Regions from separate parts of the Homo sapiens genome. Here region 1 is linked to region 2. Evidence: promoter capture Hi-C in 16 types of primary human blood cells and fetal thymus (Javierre and others, 2016). All regions are on one chromosome and are shown on one strand. The core of a region is centred on a gene start or on the middle of the fragment in contact, and the rest is flanking DNA. Distances in the headings are between cores, read along the strand shown.

What was found. The method cuts DNA at HindIII sites, captures the fragments that hold promoters and counts their contacts. A CHiCAGO score of 5 or more calls a contact.
Region 1: a contact is called between a fragment that was not itself captured here and the fragment with the promoter of OR5C1 in region 2, in 5 of 17 cell types (endothelial precursors, M0 macrophages, M1 macrophages and 2 more). The highest score is 8.9, in endothelial precursors.

The regions. Positions count from the first base shown.
Region 1 is chr9:122,521,222-122,523,941 of GRCh38, forward strand. It overlaps a transcript of OR1J2 not described here. Among named protein-coding and RNA genes, the nearest start is that of OR1J4, 3.4 kb to the left of the region's middle. The HindIII fragment of the contact is 921 bases long and covers 961-1,881 here.
Region 2 is chr9:122,787,594-122,790,293 of GRCh38, forward strand. It overlaps OR5C1 (olfactory receptor family 5 subfamily C member 1), which reads left to right and starts at 1,340. Exons shown (of 1, transcript NM_001001923.1): 1 at 1,340-2,302. The coding sequence starts at 1,340. The coding sequence ends at 2,302. The HindIII fragment of the contact is 2,532 bases long and covers 1-2,453 here.

The DNA.
Region 1 (2,720 bases), core at 171-2,670, 270 kb before region 2:
CTTCTCCATCAGAGATGAGTTTTGAAGCAGAACTTGTGCAGACACTCCTGAATTATGGTGACCATGGGCAGCTTGTCATGTTGGTTATATTCCCAATTCAAAAGCAATAACCTGCCCTAGGACACAGCAACATATCTGTTCTGGCTTGAGCTAGAACCAAATAACTAAAGGGCAATGAACAAGTGAGTTCATGTGTGGGTAGGTAAGGAAAGACAGATCAGAAAAAGACCTTACTCTTCACTTGTTTGATATTGACTCAAAGAGTGATCCTTCATCGGGGGCTCATGTAGCTGCCTTTTGGCATCCAGTCCTTTGTAGAACAAGAAAGAGTGCCACCCCCACTCCTTGCTGCAAGCACAGGGTCACTTTGTTTACAGGCTTAGCCCCGACCTTTTCCAGAGCCAAAACCTGAACAGGGATAGAATCTTTATTGTTGGTTTATTGTTGGTCTAGGTAAAGCATGCCTTGATAGCCTCAGCACAATCATGACCTGCTGTACACTCTCATCTCTGCTATAGTGATGTGATCTGTAGAACTAAGTGCCTGACTCAGTTTCCCTGCCGGCACCCCAGTTCTGTTGTTCAGATCCCTGAAGATCTGCCTAGTCTTGTCAGGCCCATCCTCCAGAGAGACCAATATTGTCATTTATGTTTTAGCCACAGGCTGGTGACACTTCTCTGAATGACTTTTCCTCAAGAAATGGCAAGCTCACTTGTCTGTTGGGAAGTGTTTCATCACTATCTGTCTTACCAGTCCACCTCATCTCCCAGATCAGTTTGTCTTGGTTTTGGACAGCCCAAAGCACACTGGGGTGCACCGTATTGATTTGAATATGCAAATAGAACTGAACATCAATCACATTGGAAGTGTGCACTTTATATGAGTGCATTTCCCTCTAGCCATGCCAGGGCTAGGATTCGTGACCTTTTCCAGTGAAGCACCTCATTGAGTTTAGAACAAAGCTTGCTGCATTTTTGAAATCCATGAATGTGTGATTTTTTTTCACAAGTTAACAAATAGTTCTGAAAATTGGCAATTATGGACGTTTCAAGTGACCAGTGTACTTCCTTCTCAAAAGTTAACACTAATTCTTTCACAGTGTGACAATAGAACAATCTTCCTCAGAGGGGAGGAATCAAAACATCCTAGAACCAGGAACTCCAGCACTTGATTTTAGCACATATGTAACACACAATTCTGACATGGAAATTTTAAGAGTAAACAAAAATTATTCTATTTTGTCACAGATGGAAAGTGGAAGGGGAATTTGCTAAAGAATTAAGTTCACTTAGCTTTTGAAGGAAAAAATAAACCCATTAATGTTGTGATGGTTATATTATTTGAATCCAAGAACTGTGTGCATGTGTGTGTGTGTGTGTGTGTGTAACTCACATATACATACAATTTAATTTGTTTGTAATTAAGGACAAATGTTGGAATTAATACTAAAAATAGTAAAACATTCTTTATTTTATAGATTGTGCCCCTCAGTAGCCATTCAGCAAGTTACCTGTCTGTGCCAGGCAGTGTGCCTATTCTTGGTCAAACAGATCTGGATAAAGAGAAAGCCTCCAGGCAAAAGAAGCTCATATTCTGATAGTGTAGCAACAGGTAAACTAAGAAATATGCAAGAGTACAAAAAGTGCCTTAACGTAATAACACCACGAATAGTTGTGCTTATTTTGCATGGCTACTGTGTGTCAGGCATTGTATTAAAAGCTGTACCTGTATTATGTCATTTAATCCTCATAATAATTCTACATATATACACTGTTACTATCTATATTTTACAGCTGGGAAAATTGAGGCTTAGAGACGATGAAATACTTACATGGTAGTAACACAAGGGCGTATAGTTAATGCTGCCTGGATATCAGCAAAAGCTTTACAGGGGAAGTAATTCTTCAGTTGGGGGTTGAAGGATGCTCAGGATTGATACATAATGGAACAAATGAGTCTAGGTAGAGTGGACAGAGTGGGCCAGGGCACTGAATTTGCATGGTATGTTCAGGGAAATGTAAGAAAAATGATGTTGCTATACATAGGTGTGTATGAGTCAAGGAAGCATCAAGAGGTGAGTCTAGACAGGGAGACAAAGACTATATTGTGAGGGGGGTAGATTGTCCTGTTAAGAGGTTTAGACATTGCCTTGCAAGTGATGGGCACCATTGGCTGGGGTGGGGTGGAATTGGGATTAGTCTCAGGGAAGGTTATGTTTGTGTTTTCTAAAGATTACTCGGGTAACCAACGTGTGAGATGGTTTGGCAATGGATCGGAGTGCCTTGAATCAAGATGCTTAATTAGAAGGTCATTGTACATTCAGGTAACAGATAATGTGTGCCTGGATGAAGACAATGGCATATAGATAGAGAAGAGAATACTCTTGAAGGTAGACTAGACGGTATTGGTAATTGATGGGAAGTAGGTGATAGAATGAAGGATTGCTCTTGATTTATGGTTCTGTGGACTGATATTTAAGAACAAAATGGAAGACTAGGCACCTTAAATAATTTTGATTAGGTTTAACAGTCTTAAGGAAGTGAGGAAACAAACTGAAGACCATTTGCTTCTTAAAAATGGGTTCTGAGCAAGAAGAAAGCAAAACCCCTAAATAGGCAAGGGGCACTGGGAAGCTTTCTATCATGCTACCTCTCTCCATTACCCCACCTCTGATTCAAAGCATGCCCTGCTCATTACCCTACCAAGGTGCAAAGATTTAT
Region 2 (2,700 bases), core at 90-2,589:
CAAGAATTCAGCTCAGGAATATATTCACATTTTCTGTTCTTTCTACTCCCCACTGTTTTCGCAAGATACCAGGCTACTCCTTTCTCCGATCTTACTCCAAAGGAAAGATGTCCCTACTAGCAAACCTCAAAAGCCATGGCCAGGTGCCCGTTGGATCTGAAGATTATTTCTGCTCATTCCACTGTCTCTTTTCTTACCTGGAAAACTGGAGAGGAGAATGCATATAGAGTCACAAAGTTTTCAATCATTGGCTGGACACTAAATATCATCCCATTCATTCATTTAACAAATCTTTTTTGAGCACCAGCTATGTGCTAGGCAATGCTCTCAGTGCTGTAGACACAAAAGTGAATAAGAGGGACAAGACCCCTGTGGGTGTGGTGGAGCATGCCTATAATCCCAGCTGCTTGGGAGGCTGAGGTGGGAGGAGGATCACTTAAGCCCAAGAATTTTAGTTCAGCCTGGGCAACATAGTGAGACCTTGTGTCTCTTTAAAAAAAAAAAAAAAAAGGCTGGGCGTGGTGGCTCACACCTGTAATCCCAACACTTTGGGAAGCTGGGGCAGGCAGACTTGAGATCAGGAGTTGAAGACCAGCCTGACCACCAACATGGTGAAACCCTACCTCTACTTAAAAAATACAAAAATTAGCCGGGCATGGTGGCGGGCACCTGTAGTCCCAGCTACTCGGGAGGCTGAGGTAGGAGAGTCACTTGAACCCAGGAGGCGGAGGTTGCAGTGACCCAAGATTGCACCACTGCACGCCAGCCTGGGCAACAAAACAAGACTCCATCTCAAAAAAAAGAAAAGAAAAGAAAAGAAAAAAGAAAAAAAGACGGGCCGGGTACAGTGGCTCATGCCTGTAATCCCAGCACTTCAGGAGGCTGAGGTGGGCGGATCACCTGAAGTTGGGAGTTCGAGACCAGCCTGACCAACATGGAGAAACTCCATCTCTACTAAAAATATAAAATTAGCCAGGCACGGTGGCACATGCCTATAATCCCAGCTACTTGGGAGGCTGAGGCAGGAGAATCGCTTGAACCCAGAAGGCGGAGGTTGTGGTGAGCTGAGATCACACCTTTGCACGCCAGCCTGGGTAACAAGAGCAAAACTCCATCTCAAAAACAAAAAAAGGCTTCTGCAATGACTTCTAAGAGTTAGAAACAGGTTTTGAGAGGTTACGTGGCTTGCTCAAGGTCACAGCAATTTTGTTGCACAGGTGAGCTGAAACCCAAGCCTACCTAACTCCCAGTACAGGATGCTTTCTTCTCCCTGGCCATGGCCTTGCCATTGCTCTTATCTCCCTCCTGCTTTGCCTCTTCTCAGTCTCTGTCCAGTAGGATGAACTCAGAGAACCTCACCCGGGCCGCGGTTGCCCCTGCTGAATTCGTCCTCCTGGGCATCACAAATCGCTGGGACCTGCGTGTGGCCCTCTTCCTGACCTGCCTGCCTGTCTACCTGGTGAGCCTGCTGGGAAACATGGGCATGGCGCTGCTGATCCGCATGGATGCCCGGCTCCACACACCTATGTACTTCTTCCTGGCCAACCTCTCCCTGCTGGATGCCTGCTATTCCTCCGCCATCGGCCCCAAGATGCTAGTGGACCTGCTGCTGCCCCGAGCCACCATCCCTTACACAGCCTGTGCCCTCCAGATGTTTGTCTTTGCAGGTCTGGCTGATACTGAGTGTTGCTTGCTGGCAGCCATGGCCTATGACCGCTACGTGGCCATCAGAAACCCACTTCTCTATACAACAGCTATGTCGCAGCGTCTATGCCTGGCCTTGCTGGGAGCATCAGGCCTGGGTGGGGCAGTGAGTGCCTTTGTTCACACAACCCTCACCTTCCGCCTGAGCTTCTGCCGCTCCCGGAAGATCAATAGCTTCTTCTGCGATATCCCTCCACTGCTGGCCATCTCGTGCAGTGACACCAGTCTCAATGAACTCCTTCTCTTCGCCATCTGTGGCTTCATCCAGACAGCCACGGTGTTAGCTATCACGGTGTCTTATGGCTTCATCGCTGGGGCTGTGATCCACATGCGCTCGGTCGAGGGCAGTCGGCGAGCAGCCTCCACCGGTGGTTCCCACCTCACAGCCGTGGCCATGATGTACGGGACACTCATTTTCATGTACCTGCGCCCCAGCTCCAGCTATGCCCTGGACACTGACAAGATGGCCTCTGTGTTCTATACCCTGGTCATCCCGTCTCTCAACCCACTCATCTACAGCCTCCGCAATAAGGAGGTCAAGGAGGCCCTCAGGCAGACCTGGAGCCGATTCCACTGTCCAGGGCAGGGGTCCCAGTGATTGGTCCAGGGAGGCTGGGTAGGTCTGACTATGAGGGGATGAGGAAGGTCGGGGCCTCTTTCTGGCCCCGTCACTGTCGGTAAAGATGGGATGTTCCTCTGGCTTGGATGTCTCATGTCATTGTTTAAGGGACAGTAAAGAGGGAAATGAAAGCTTATAGCAGGGAGAAAAAGATTTGGGGTTCATCTAGGGCTAGACCTAGAGCCAGACGCTAGACCAGGCTAATGTTTCTGTTGCACTGCCTCAGGTTCTTCAACATTCAAAACATTCTTCAATATTCAGCTGGGTGCAGTGGCTCATGCCTGTAACCCCAGCACTTTGGGAGGCCAAGGCAGGAGTTCAAGACCAGCCTGGGCAACACAGGGAGACCCCCCCACCATCTCTACAAAAAAAAAAAA